4 separate regions of the Homo sapiens genome follow, and regions 1, 2 and 3 are each linked to region 4. The links are contacts of gene promoters, found by promoter capture Hi-C in human tissues and cell types (Jung and others, 2019). All regions are on one chromosome and are shown on one strand. The core of a region is centred on a gene start or on the middle of the fragment in contact, and the rest is flanking DNA. Distances in the headings are between cores, read along the strand shown.

Region 1 (3,596 bases), core at 299-2,798, 260 kb before region 4:
CTCACCTTCCTTTGCCATAAGCCAGAGTGTACTGAGAATAGTCTCGTTTGAACATTTGCCTCTGAGGAGAATATAAACAGGAAGGCAAGTCTGATGCAAAACTCCATATTCTGAAATGCATCCCTTAAAACAATGCACCAAGGATCCTCTCTCCCGAGGTGTCTGTCGCACTCCATCTAGCATACATATCTGAGAGTTTCTAAGGCTTGCCTTTCAGATACTTGGTGGTTCCTAATAAGGTGCCCTAATCAGTTTCTTAATCAAGGCAACACTTCAAAAGATTTTCAAATGAATGCTACAGACAGGTTTCCTATTTCCCTCTGTCTCAGAAGGCCCTCAAAATCCCCTCCACTGAAAGAAACAAAGCCGCTTCAAGCCTCCCAAAACATCTTGAAAATACTCACATTTTCAAAAGGACTGCACTCATAGGAAGAAACCTAAACTGAAGTCTTATTTCTCGAATGAACTAATTATTTAATATTGGACAAATTATCTCCCTTCTTTGTGCCTCTTCAAAAGTGGAGAAAGTGTCCTGAGATTCTAGTTTAAAAATGGGGCTCCTGGTAGGGCGCGGTGGCTCACGCCTGTAATCCCAGCACTTGGGGAGGCCGAGGCAGGCAGATCACAAGGTCAGGAGATCGAGACCATCCTGGCTAACATGGTGAAACCCCATCTCTACTAAAAATACAAAAAATTAGCCGGGTGTGGTGGCGGGCGCCTGTAGTCCCAGCTACTCGGGAGGCTGAGGCAGGAGAATGGCGTGAACCCGGGAGGCGGAGTTTACAGTGAGCCGAGATCGCGCCACTGGACTCCAGCCTGGGCGACAGAGTGAGACTCCGTCTCAAAAAAAAAAAGTGGGGGGGGGGGTCCTTTGAGGAATTATTTAATATTAACCAGGGGGATTTGGTGGAGTGAGAAATGTAGACAATGGTAAAGAAATAAATCCTCTTCACCTTTGTAGGATAGAGCAAAGCAGCATCCAAAGGCCTTTCCTATCTTCTCCTGGCTTTATCCTCCACTAAAGACGAGGGAAGATAGGATCCTGCTGCCACCTCGTGGCACTTTAGGCAGCACAAAAAGAAGGGCTTACTCAATAGGGTCATACAACCCAAATGCCCCTCAGGAAACCACATCCTCCTCCTCCTCCCTTACAATTAACTGCACAGAGCTTGACCATTCACAAAACACTTTCAACCCTATTATCTCATTTCACTCTTCCAACAACTATAGGATGGGGAAGGGGAAGGCGGGGGCGGGGGGCGGAGGGAGCAGAGGGGGCAGGGTGTCAGGACTGGCTGGAGGCATAACTCCAACTCTGTTGAAAAAGCCAAAGCTCAGAGAGACTATGTGACTTGCCTAAGGTCAAACAGTGAGTAGCTGACCGTACCTGAACCCACATCCCTTGATTCTAAATCAGGTGATTCATTATCTGCTGTATAGGGAAAAGGGTAAAACTGAGGTTTAGGTATGCTCCAGGTCTAGGAATTTGAGGGAAGGAGGCTTAAGAAGAGAAAAGGCTCAATTTCTTCTGCAGACACAACTGACTGGCCACAGGCCACAACCAGGCTGCTTGGAAAAAGGTCTACGCAGTCAACCTATCCACAGAAAAAGGTATGCAGATAGCCTGGGTTCCCGTCTTCCTTCTTGGTTTGCACATTCTCAGTTAACATCTCTAGGTATCTCCAGCTGCTCTCCCTCCCTCTACTTTCCAGCCCCAGCCTACCCATAGGACACAAGACTGATTTATGGCTAAGTGCTAAACACCAAACGGATCCCAGGCAAGGGAGCCACAACATCTAGAAATCAGCAAAAACTGCAGGGAGAGCTGCTATGTCCCTGGGTTAGAGCTCATAATATTTGTGGCTCAGCCCAGATTTTCCTGTAAGTTTTGGCAGAAAGCTCAGTTGGCTTGTCCCATATTGATGTCATGCACACTGAAACCCAGGAGGCAATGCTGGAGTTATGACTTACCAACTAGCATATAGGGATGGCCTAAGAATCTGAGAGTTTCCAATTTCTCCAAGGCAACCACAACTTCTTAAAGAATTGCAGCTGGGCACAGTGGCTCACACCTGTAATCCTAGCACTTTGGGAGGCCGAGGTGGAAGGATTGCTTGAGTCAAGAGTTCAAGACCAGCCTGGGCCACAGAGTGAGATTCCGTTTCTACAAAATAGAGAAAATTAGCCAGGTGTGGTGGCATACATCTGTAGTTCCAGCTACAGGGGAGGCTGAGAGTGGGGAGGATCACTTGAGCCCAGTAGGTCAAGGATGCAGTGAGCTGTGATCTCACCATTGCACTCGGCCTGGGCAACAGTGAGACCCTGTCTCAAAAATAAATAAATAAAAGAAATGCAAAGCCCAGGTGCCTAAACTTTCTACAACCACAGGTCTCCTTCCCTCTCTCCCTCCCTCCCTCCTTCCTTCCTTCCTTGTGAGTAGAGCATTCACTAAATGAGTGGAGTATTGTACGGGATAAAGATGACGAATAAGAAATAATTCCTTTGCGGAATCAGGATCTTGAAGAGATACCTGCATTCCTGTGTTCACTGCAGCATTATTCACAAGGACCAAGATACGGAAACGACTTACATGTCCATTGACAGATGAATGCATAAAGAAAATGTGGTATACATGTACAATGGAATATTATTCAGCCTTTAAAAAGAATAAAATCCTGCCATTTGTGACAATATGAATGAACCTGGAGAACATTATGCTAAGTGAAATAGGCCAAACATAGAAAGATAAATACTCTATGATGTCACTTATATGTGGAATCTAATATAGTTAAATTCATAGAATTCACCATGGGCTGAAGGAAGGAGGATATGAAAAGATGTTGGTCAAAAGGCAGAAACTTTCAGTTATGCAAGATGAATAAGTTCTGGAGAGTTAATGTATGGCATGGTGACTATCAGTAACAATGTTACACTATATACTTAAAATTTGTTGTTGATCCTAAGTATTCTCACACAAAAGGTATTCTCACACACACACAAAAGGTAACTATGATGGATATGTTAATTACCTTGATTGTGGTGATTATTTCACAATATGTATATCAAATCAAGTTGTATAATTTAAATATATATAAATTTTATTTTTTTTTCTTTTATTATCTTTTTTAAGAGACATAGTCTCACTCTGTTCACCCAGGCTGGAGTGCAGTGGCACAATAATAGCTCACTGCAGCCTCGAACTCCTGGGCTCAAGTGATCCTCCCACCTCTACCTCCTGAGTGGGTGGAACTACAGGCACACGTCACCATGCCTGGTTTATACAATTTTTCAAAAAAGAAATAATTCCTTTGATTAAAACTGTGTTGCCTAATGGTAAATGGGGAAATGGGAAAAAAACAAAAGTTATAAATGGATGTGAGATATAAACATTAAGTGCTTGGGGGTTAAGAGGGAAAAATAAGATTCCTTCTGGCTTGGGAGTTAGGGGACCAAAATGGATTTTAAAAAAGCTATTTCATGGATGTATAACATATAAAACCCTTCAGAAGTCTGGCCTTTACAAACCTTCCCTGCCTTCTCTCCTACTACTACCTTGCCCTCACCCTACCATATTCTGAACACAAGTTTTCTTTAGT
Region 2 (3,438 bases), core at 525-3,024, 340 kb before region 4:
CATTAGTAGCTATGATTTTCATTGTCTGTGCCAATGCTACCGAACCTGAGCACTCGGTCCTAGGTTCAAGAAGAAAATTAACCAGGGTAGGGCCTCTCCTGGAGCTATTTTCACATCTCCACTGGTTACTATTACCAACAGGTCAGCAAGGAGTAGACAAGACCAAAGCTAAATTAAGGTCCACCCACACCTGTATCACCAAAATGCCCTCTCATATTCAGGAGCACTTGCCAAGTGCCCTCAGACAGCCAGGCAGAAACTGAAAAGGAACTTGAGACCCCAAAAAGTCAAAAGAGAAACAAAACAGCACCTTATCCAGAGGAATAAGGACTCTTCCTCTGAAGGTAAAAGAATTCACGCCAAGTAGATTCCAGAGTATAATCACTCATGCCATTTGTGTTGCATTTTTAAGCTTACAAAGTGCTTCATATCCATCATCTCCTTTGACTTAAGACAACATCCCCTGAATGGTAATAATAGCTCCCATTCCTTGAATATTTACTCTGGGCCAGACCCTGTATTCCACACTTCACATGTACCCTTGTCATTTAATTCTCACAACCCTGTAGGACTATTATTTCTCTTTTAAACATGAGAGAATCGAGGTTCTGAGAGTTAAATAACTTGAACCAAGGCCCCACAGTTAGTAAATGGCAAAGCTGGAATTTGAACCCAGGTCTGCCTGACCTAAGAGACCACTATTAGCTATACACAGAATGTACTACCCCTATCTTACTGTCTCCATTTTAGAGATAAGCTAATTGAGACAGAGAGAAAAGGTAACTGGCTCAAAACTACTTAGAGAGCCAACCTCAGTGCAGAACCAGACCCTCAGATGCCTGGCCTAATGCCTTTTTCACCTTACCTCTGGATGAGGAAAAACAGCTTTGAACCCCTAAAGATATTACATACAAGCTGGCATCCAAGGCTTCCAAACAGCTACTATAATAAAGTCCTTCCACCTGGATTCATCTGGGCACCTAGCTTATTAACCAGGACTAGCCAAAGAATGCTCTTGGGGAAAGCTGGAAGAGTACCACTGGAACCCAAGGGAATTAAAAAAAAAAAAAAAAAAAAGGCGGGTGGGTGGGGGGCAGACCAACTAAAGCAACAAGCAGAGTGCTTCACACAGACCAGCACACTGGTCTCTGAGTCTTCCCATGAATCTGCAACCTACAACTGGTGCCCTCTGCTGGCAAAAGTATACATCTCTTCATAACAAAAGTAAAACCTAATTACTACAACTGGGGCTTAAGAAGGAAAAAAATATATGCTTCCTTCACAGACATTCTATTCAGGAATGAACATTATTTCTTACTTACAACTTTCCAATAGGCATATGCAACTTTAAATTGACTGCAATGATCCTCTCCTCTATCTGCTGCCCCTGCCTCACGCCTGCAGTTCTTTCCTTTCGGGATCCAAAGAAAATTGGGCTGTTTTACATAAAAAGGTAAAATATAAATGAATGATGCAAAGCCCTAAAGTCAAGAATACAGTGATGTGTATGTGGGTGAGATCAGGTCTGCACATCTAGCAAGTACAGAGAATTGAGGCAGGCACACACTTGAAGTGATATAAAACCCATGGGCACGTATGCTCAAACATTTTGGTAAATCTCTACCTTCGTAAAATAGCATGCTTATGATTCAGTCAACTAAGTCTCACTGAATATCTACTATGCAGGCTGTACCAGAGACTGACAACATAAATCCTATATTAATATAATTCCAAAGAGCACACAAGCTGTTTGAGAAAATTAGACATAGGCATATACAATGGTAAAAAGTATGAGAGTCAAGTACAGAAAGGGTATCATGGAAACTTGGTGGGAGAAGAGGCAACTTCCAGTTGGGGAGAGGGTGGATGACATGAGAATAGAAATAAATTGAGAACTTAATAATTCTATGGAGTTTTTAAAAGGTATTCATAATTGTAAATATTTGCAAATAGGTAATTTCAACGTCCCATGATTTCATTTAAAAAATTTTTTTGGCCGGGCATGGTGGCTCACACCTGTAATCCCAGCACTTTGGGAGGACAAGGAGAGAGGACCGCTTGAGCACAGTAGTTTTGAGACCAGCCTGGGGAACATGGTAAGACCTCATCTCTACAAAAAAAATTTTAAAACTTAACCAGGCATAGTGGTGTGCACCTGTAGTCCTAGCTACTTGGAAGGCATGGGCAGAGGGATCACCTGAGCCCAGGAGTTTGAGGCTGCAGTGAGCCATGATTGCACCACCACTGTGCTACAGCCTGGGCAACAGGGCAAGCCCTTGTCTTTAAAAAAATATTTAAAAGATACAATTTTTTCATCCCACTACTTTAATATACTTACATATTTATTATGTTAAATAATATATTTTTTCATTACAATTTCTATTGTGGTAAAATATACATTAAATTTGCCATTTTAGGCCAGGTGTGGTGGCTCACACTTGTAATCCCAGGATTTTGGTAGGCTGAGGTGGGAGGATCACTTGAGCCCAGGAGTTCAATACTAGCCTGGGCAATATAGCAAGACTCCATCTCTACAAAAAGATTTTTTAAATTAGCTAGCTGTGGTGGCGCGTGCCTGTAGTCAGTTCTAGCTACGGGGGAGGCTGAGGTGGGAGGATCACTTGAGCCCACAGTTCGAAGCTCCAGTGAGCTATGATCATGCCACTGCACTCCAGCCTGGGCACCAGAGTAAGACCCGGCCTCCAAAAAAAAGAAAAAAAGCCATTTTAACCATTTTTAAATATACGATTCATCAGCATTAAGTACATTCATAATGTTGTATAACAATCACCACTATCCATTTTCAGAACTTTCTCAACATCTGAAAAGAAATTCTGTATCCCTTAAACAGTAATTTCCCATTTCTATCTCTCTGAATTTGCCTACTCTGGGTACCTCATTTAAGTGCAATCATAGTATGTCCTTTTGTGCAGGCTTATTTCACTTGGCATGTTTTCATTCATCTTGTAGCATATACCAGAAATTTATTCTTTCTTATGGCTGAATATTCCATTGTATGTATATACCACATCTTGTTAATTCATTCACCTGATAACACTGAGTTAATATTTCACCTTTTGACAGACCACAGTTAACATTTCCCTAATATTTGACATTTAGTTTCCAATTTTTTGCTACGTCATAATTTTTATGCAAAGACTGTTTTCCTTTCAATAAATTTTTCAATAAACTGTTCTGTTAAGGTTAAATTCCTAGTAATGGTGTCCCAGAGCATATGAATACTTTAATAGTTCTTAATAAATAAATCCATAATTTTACTCTCCTCATTTGCCATTTTTCATAACCTGATGGACAAATTCCGGTCAGCAGTTTGTTACAAATGTATAAAGTGTGACAAAACCAAATGGAGGGAAGCTTTTGGAGAAAGAAAAGGAATTAACAAAGCAGAAACAGCTCAGAAGAGCTCTCCACTAGACA
Region 3 (3,340 bases), core at 750-3,249, 270 kb after region 4:
GAAACAAAGGAAGGGCTTTGGGGAAGTGGTGGGCAGTGGCATGTGGTTAAAGAAGCTTAGAATTACAGGGTTTTTTTTCTTTAAAACTGATGTTTCATTTCACCTACTGCTTGAGCAGGGGTAAAGTTTGAACATCTAAAATGACTTTGTTTCCCCCTTTTTTTCTTTTGAGTTTATTTTTGTTGGATTTTTCTGCTATTTTCTGTGAGGCCAAGTGTGATTTTATTTTTCATTCCTGAAGTCTTGTTAATATAGGAAAGAACGTAAACTCCATGAGGGCAAGAGTTTTGTTTTATTCAATATTGTGTCCCCAACACTTTGGGAAGTTCCTGGCACATGAAAAGTGCTGGTCACATTTGTTGAATGCATTTCCCTTTTGCCTTTCCCATCCGTGAACTTAGGTACATTTCTGTCTCTCTGCTGTGAGAAACTAGCCTTGGACATTGGGGCAGTAGTTAAATCTCTGTATGGGAGAAAATCCCAGCAGATAATTTTGATAGAAAAATTGCAAGGCAGATAGATCTTGTATGGATTCACCCTTGTTCCCCTCCTACCAACTACAGCTTATGGGCCATGTGCTTTAAGAGGTGGCTCTCAGCCCAGAAAAACATTCTGAGTCAGGCCTCAGGTTGGCTGTGGGAGATGGAAGTTAAAAAGAAGTGGAGGGAGGAATGTTTCCTTGGTGCTCCACAGGGTTGGTTCTAGAATGATTTTCCTATATGTTTTATACTTTAGTAAAAGTATAAAGTCAATAGTTGGTTACCCCTCTCCCCAAGCCTTTGTTACAAGAAAAGTAGGTCAAGGGTGTAGACAAGGTTATGGACAGGAGATAGCTGGGGTAGGCACAGAAGCCTTGGAGAAAGAACCAGCTACCACTATTTCCTGTCTGTAGGGAAAATCAAAAAGTCACTTTTAGAACAACAGTCATGGGTTATTACTATACCCTTTATCTTTTGTATCCATTTTGTGTATACTCAGTCTCTGCATCCATGAGACCATGGAATGTGCTAGTCCCTGATATTGCCAGCTTTAAATGATTGAGGCAATTTCCTGTTGCTTATTGTGGGTAACAATCTAGCCAAAAATCTCAGCATCTCACTTTCTCTGCAGGCTCCTTTTCTAATCAGGAGCTATCAGTCTCCCACACCTGTATTAAATGCATTCAGATAAGAGTTACAGAATTTTCTTTGCCCCCAGCCCCACTAATTCCATGGTAAGATGGAGTGCTACTAAGAGAACCCCTTTACTGTTGGTCTATTTCCAGTTCCCCTAAGAGTTGAATGGAGAAACACGTAGACTTAATAACATTGGCAGACTAGGAAGGGGAAGAAGTTAGGTCGGTTTTAGGAAAAACACCAAGATGTTGGGGGGCACGTTGGCCTTCAGTCAGTGGAAAGAGTGGCATTATACATCCAATGGAAGTAATACATTGGCCAATTGGAAAGGAACCTAAGAAGTGCTGGCAGTATAGAATGGGATGGTGCTGTTATGGGCCATTGAGAAGGAAGACATTGTGTCTCATGGACCAATGGGGAGAACATTTCCTACAAGACAGCAGGTAGGAGCTCATATTTTCAGGATAGGAAATCAATGGGGGTATTGGAGACACTAAATAGCTCAAAACATCCACTCTCTAGGTACCTTGCCCCTCACCCCCTTACCCCGTAAATGTCTTTGGTATCCGAGGAGAGCAAGCTAAAGCCCTCTCATATATACGACTCCCTGAAGGAAGATTGAGACCAGGGATGATGCCATGGGGAAGCTGAAGGACCCGCCCACTTCCCTACCCCGGCCGGACCTGCAATTCCCCTCCAGACCGCAGGGGGCACTGCAGGCCCCGGGGAGATTGGGGCGGAGCGCTGCGAGGGGCCAGGAGCTGTCGCCCCGCTCCAGAGCGCGGGGGGCGCTGTGCGGGGCCCAGGCTGCGGCTCCGCTCCCGGCCACGGGGGGCGCTGCGCTGCGCCGGTGGTTGGTGGTGGCTGTTGGGGGGGGTGGGGGGGAACGGCGGCCGCGGGTGGTGCGGAGGGAGGCCTTGCGGGCGGATCGGGCGCTTGGCGGCGGAGGTGGTGGGAGGCGGCGGGCGGGAGCGCGGGTCAGGCCGGCCCCGGCGATGGCGGACGCGGCGGCCTCCCCGGTGGGCAAGCGGCTGCTGCTGCTGTTCGCGGACACTGCGGCCTCAGCCTCGGCCTCGGCTCCCGCGGCGGCAGCGGCGAGCGGAGATCCGGGGCCTGCGCTGCGCACTCGAGCCTGGCGGGCCGGCACGGTGCGGGCCATGAGCGGGGCGGTGCCCCAGGACCTAGCGGTGAGTGGCGGCCGAGTCGGGCACTCGAGGCCGGGGCTGCGGGGCCTGCGGGCGGCCTCCCCGGGGGCCTTTGTGAGGGGGCGGTGGGATGGGGGTGACCCATTTCCGTGCCCCCGGGTCTCCTTAGCGCCCCCCGCCGGCACCTCCGCACCCCGAGCGCTTGCCGGCATGGCTTCCGCGTCGGGGTGTGCGCCCCGGTTTCCCCCGGGGGGCGGCCAGGGCGTCCGGAGCTGCTGCTTGCAGCCAGCAGGCCCCGCCTCCTGGGCGACCCTTTTCTCGGCGTTCCCCCCAACACGCCTTCGGAGCAGGCTCTCGAATCTTGAGCTCCCGGGAGCCTCAGAGTTCGGCCAGTGTTGCCGCTGCCCTCTCGAAGACGCGGACCTGTGGTCCCCAGCCTCTCCCAGGAGACCTGCGCCCTGTTCCTTTTCTCCCAGAGCCCCAAGTGGGGCGGGAATGTGGGCAGTTATGGGAGGCACGGAGGCTGCAGTTGGAGCTGGTCGGGGCTTTTTTATCTGGCAGTTACTTCCTCATCTGAGCTGGGCTCGGCCTGGCGGTCTCCAGAAAGGCCAGCTCTCGGCACTGTCTCGAGCTCTCCTCTCCTTTCCTTAACGCTTCTGGGTGACAGGAGCTGCAGTTGTGGCTGTTTTTGTTAAGTTTGAGATCTTTCTTAGTGGCCGAACGGGGCTGCTGGGTAGTGCTTTTTGCTCCCAGCTCAGCTACTCCCCCAACCTTGGGAGAGGTTTTGTTTTGAAACTTTGTGTTTGGGCTTGGCCCTTTTTGAATGCCTTGGTGTGTTTTGTGATTAAAGTTGTTCAGTCATACAACTTAACTAGCATTCGGGATCATGATGTGTTATTCTCGTTAATGTGGCGGTAAAATATAGTGTTTGAGTTTTGGCAAGCCACTTTATTTCCTCATTTTGATAGGGGCCCTAGCTTCTCTGGTGAGATAAGGCTATGAAAAATGGTGTGTGTGCGTGTTGGGGCAGGGGGTGGTCTTTTGGAATGTAATAGATCAGCAAGCAGAAAGTAAATTTTC
Region 4 (3,455 bases), core at 232-2,731:
CGGGTGACAAGAGTGAAACTCTGCCTCAAAAAATAAAATAAAATAAGGCTGGGTATGGTGGCTCACGCCTGTAATCCCAGCACTTTGGGAGGCCGAGGCAGGTGGATCACGAGATTAAGAGATCGAGACCATCCCGGCCAACATGGTGAAACCCGTCTCTACTAAAAATACAAAAATTAGCTGGGCATGGTGGCGCACACCTGTAATCCCAGCTACTCCGGAGGCTGAGGCAGGAGAATTGCTCGATCCCAGGAAGTGGAGGTTGCAGTGAGCCGAGATCATGCCACTGCACTCCAGCCTGGCGACAGAGTGAGACTCCATCTCAAAATAAATAAATAAATAAATAAATAAATAAATAAATAAATAAATAAAATAAAATAAAAGACAGATTCCCACCTAAGGAGCTGAAGTCCTAGTAACAAAGTAGTATCAGAAAGAAAGGCATCAGGGCCACGCCCAGTGGCTCATGCCTATAATCCCAGCATTTTGGGAGGCCAAGGTGGGCAGATCACTTGAGCCCAGGAGTTCAAGACCAGGCTGGCCAACTGGCGAAACCCCTTCTCTACTAAAAATACAAAATTTAGCTGGGTGTGGTGGCTGGCACCTGTAGTCTCAGATACTTGGGAGGCTGAGGTAGGAGAATCACTTGAACCCAGGAGGCAGAGGTTGTAGTGAGCTGAGATTGCACCACTGCACTCCAGCCTGGGCGACAGAGCGAGAGACTCTGTCTCAAAAAAAAAAAAAAAAGAGAAAGGCATCAGTCTTCCCAAATATAACCCTGGGTGGCCCTAAGGTTGGTTCTCAGATATATAAAAAATCAACTAACTGGAGTTGTAACCCTCAGATATAAAAGGATAGATTTGCTAGGAATTAAGGAAATTTCCCAGCAGTTGCTAGAATGTGGTGGAAGGGACTGTTGCAGAGATGGACTCTGAAGTGTTCCTGCTCCATAGTCCCACAGCTCCATCACCTCACAGCCTTGAAGGAAGTGGTAGGGATGGCGCACTCACTGGTTTAGGTAAATGAGTAGGAAGCAGCCCCAGATGGAGTTGCTTTATGATTATTAACACCTTGGGGAGGATGGCAGGACAGAGAGTGGGCTCTCACTGACAGATGAGGACACTGTAGCTCCAAGAATAGGTGACCTGCCTTCAGGGTTAAGGACCCAGCCTGCTCTGGCCTACATGATTCTGAGAAATGGGCCAAAGAAGCAGGAAGAGACAAAATTGACATATAGAAGAAAGAAATCTCACGTATAGGAGAAAAGCAGCCTCCTTCTCATTCTGGGAGGGAAGAAGGGCTGGAGGGGCTGGGCAGGGCGGGGCTTTTGGCGAAAACTGAGTCCCTCCTCCCAGATCCCCCACTGGGCCGGTGGCTCCTGCAGCCCTGCCAGTTAGGAACAAATGAGAAGAGCTGCTGATTTCCTCCCTTGGACATTCAGAATTTTCTCACATAAATACTGAGGAAGACCCTGCCCTCTCCTCACTTCTCTGGACTTGGCCCTGAGCTGGACCTGGTCCACTGGGGTAGGCAGGGCGATGGGGAACCTGTTTATGCTCTGGGCAGCTCTGGGCATATGCTGTGCTGCATTCAGTGCCTCTGCCTGGTAAGTCCTTTCCCAACCCTCACTCCTTGCCAAGGAGGCCCCCATTGTCTCATCCCCATTCACCTCTGCCTCACTTTTTCTCTTTTTGGTAGGTCAGTGAACAATTTCCTGATAACAGGTCCCAAGGTAGGATGATCTCCAGCTTCTGTTTTTACCCACTGAGGGCCCTAAGGGGACTCTTCTGGAGAAAAGAGGGGCGGGGACAGTGCCAGAGCCCCTCACCCAGAGGAACCCATGGTTGATTCTTAATGGAGAGCTGGCCCATCTGAGTCCTGCCTGCTCCCCCAACCACAGATGACCCATACCGGGCAGAAGCTCACAGCCCTTTTCCCTTTGCCAGGCCTATCTGACCTACACGACTAGTGTGGCCTTGGGTGCCCAGAGTGGCATCGAGGAGTGCAAGTTCCAGTTTGCTTGGGAACGCTGGAACTGCCCTGAAAATGCTCTTCAGCTCTCCACCCACAACAGGCTGAGAAGTGGTAAGTTTGTGTGGGACTCACCTGTACAAGGGGTATATATGTGAATGGAGTGGGGCTTGCAGTATGTGTATATGTGTGACATGTATTGCACAGTGAAATAAAAATGCTGCCAGTGACCTGCTGACCTGCCATTTCCTTGCTGTGTGGCCTTGAGTAAATTACCTACCCTCTCTCAGCCCCAGATTTGTCATTTGGGTCAGTAAGGCCAGTTCTGTTTAGTTCATCAGAAGTATCCTATGGGTTGAATGAGGTGGGTATGAGGTGTCTCTATGTATGAGATAAATGTAGGAAATTACTCTTTTTTTTTTTTCTTTTTTTGAGACGGAGTCTCACTCTGTTGCCCAGGCTGGAGTGCAATGGCGCAATCTCGGCTTACCGCAACTTCCGCCTCCGGAGTTCAAGTGATTCTCCTGCCTCAGCCTCCCGAGTAGCTGGGATTACAGGCATGCAACATGCCTGGCTAATTTTTTGTATTTTTAGTAGAGATGGGGTTTCACCATGTTGGCCAGGCTGGTCTCAAACTCCTGACCTCAGGTGATCCACCCACCTCAGCCTCCAAAAGTGCTGGGATTACAGGCGTAAGCCACCGTGCCCAGCGGAAATTACTCTATTTTTTAAATGCATGCCTATATTTGTGCGTTTGTACACACTGATCTTGCACTGAGTTGCATGAAATAAAAATGGGGAAAGGGCTGTGTGTTTGCAGCTCCTGAGGAAGTTTCACATGGCTAACTGCCATAAAATCTCAACAGAAAAGCTGAGACGTCACATTGAGTTGTGCCTCAGGTGGGGTGTGTGTCTATGTGTGTGTATGGGTGTGCACGTGCACCCATTTGTAACTGTGTGCCGTAGTTTGCATGTCATTTTTGAAGATAACATTCACCTGAGAATAGTTAGGGGAACGAGAGTAAAGAAGACGGAGAAAGTGGCTAAGCACGTGTTGGAACCATGCCTATAATCCCAGCACTTTGGAAGGCTAAGGCAGGAGGATCGCTTGAGTTCAGGAGTTCGAGACCAGCCTGGGCAACATAGCAAGACCTCGTCTCTACTAAAAATAAAAGTAAAAATATTAGCCGGCATGGTAGCATGTGCCTGTAGTCCCAGAGACCTGGAAGGCTGAGTTGGGAGGATTTCTGGAACCCAGGAGTTCAAGGATATAGTGAGCTATGATCACACCACTACACTCCTGCCTGGGTGACAGAGCAAGACCTTGTCTCAAAAAAAAAAAAAAAAAAAAAAGATGAGGTTCAAAAGAAATGTCTCCCCATGGGGTATACAGATAGAATAGGGAGTATGTAGAAATAAAATGTGACAATGTTTGTAAAGAGTTTAGTAAGATAAGAGTTCAGTAGGTGGCAGTCAGGATGATT

The links. The method cuts DNA at HindIII sites, captures the fragments that hold promoters and counts their contacts. A contact is called where the count stands out against the background at its distance.
Region 1: a fragment that was not itself captured here is called in contact with the fragment with the promoter of WNT8A in region 4 in 1 of the 25 tissues and cell types used here (bladder).
Region 2: a contact is called between a fragment that was not itself captured here and the fragment with the promoter of WNT8A in region 4, in 1 of the 25 tissues and cell types used here (dorsolateral prefrontal cortex).
Region 3: the fragment with the promoter of KDM3B here is called in contact with the fragment with the promoter of WNT8A in region 4 in 1 of the 25 tissues and cell types used here (adrenal gland).

The regions. Positions count from the first base shown.
Region 1 is chr5:137,821,297-137,824,892 of GRCh38, forward strand. No RefSeq gene overlaps it. Among named protein-coding and RNA genes, the nearest start is that of MYOT, 45 kb to the right of the region's middle. The HindIII fragment of the contact is 7,359 bases long and covers 1-3,596 here.
Region 2 is chr5:137,742,032-137,745,469 of GRCh38, forward strand. No RefSeq gene overlaps it. Among named protein-coding and RNA genes, the nearest start is that of KLHL3, 7.7 kb to the left of the region's middle. The HindIII fragment of the contact is 5,717 bases long and covers 1-3,438 here.
Region 3 is chr5:138,350,686-138,354,025 of GRCh38, forward strand. KDM3B (lysine demethylase 3B) reads left to right here and starts at 2,000. Exons shown (of 24, transcript NM_016604.4): 1 at 2,000-2,302. The coding sequence starts at 2,111. RefSeq lists silencers at 1,700-1,779, 1,800-2,039, 2,120-2,589 and an enhancer at 2,840-2,939. The HindIII fragment of the contact is 4,490 bases long and covers 1-3,340 here.
Region 4 is chr5:138,082,552-138,086,006 of GRCh38, forward strand. It overlaps WNT8A (Wnt family member 8A), which reads left to right and starts at 1,482. Exons shown (of 5, transcript NM_001300939.2): 1 at 1,482-1,732; 2 at 1,947-2,085. The coding sequence starts at 1,577. The HindIII fragment of the contact is 19,757 bases long and covers 1-3,455 here.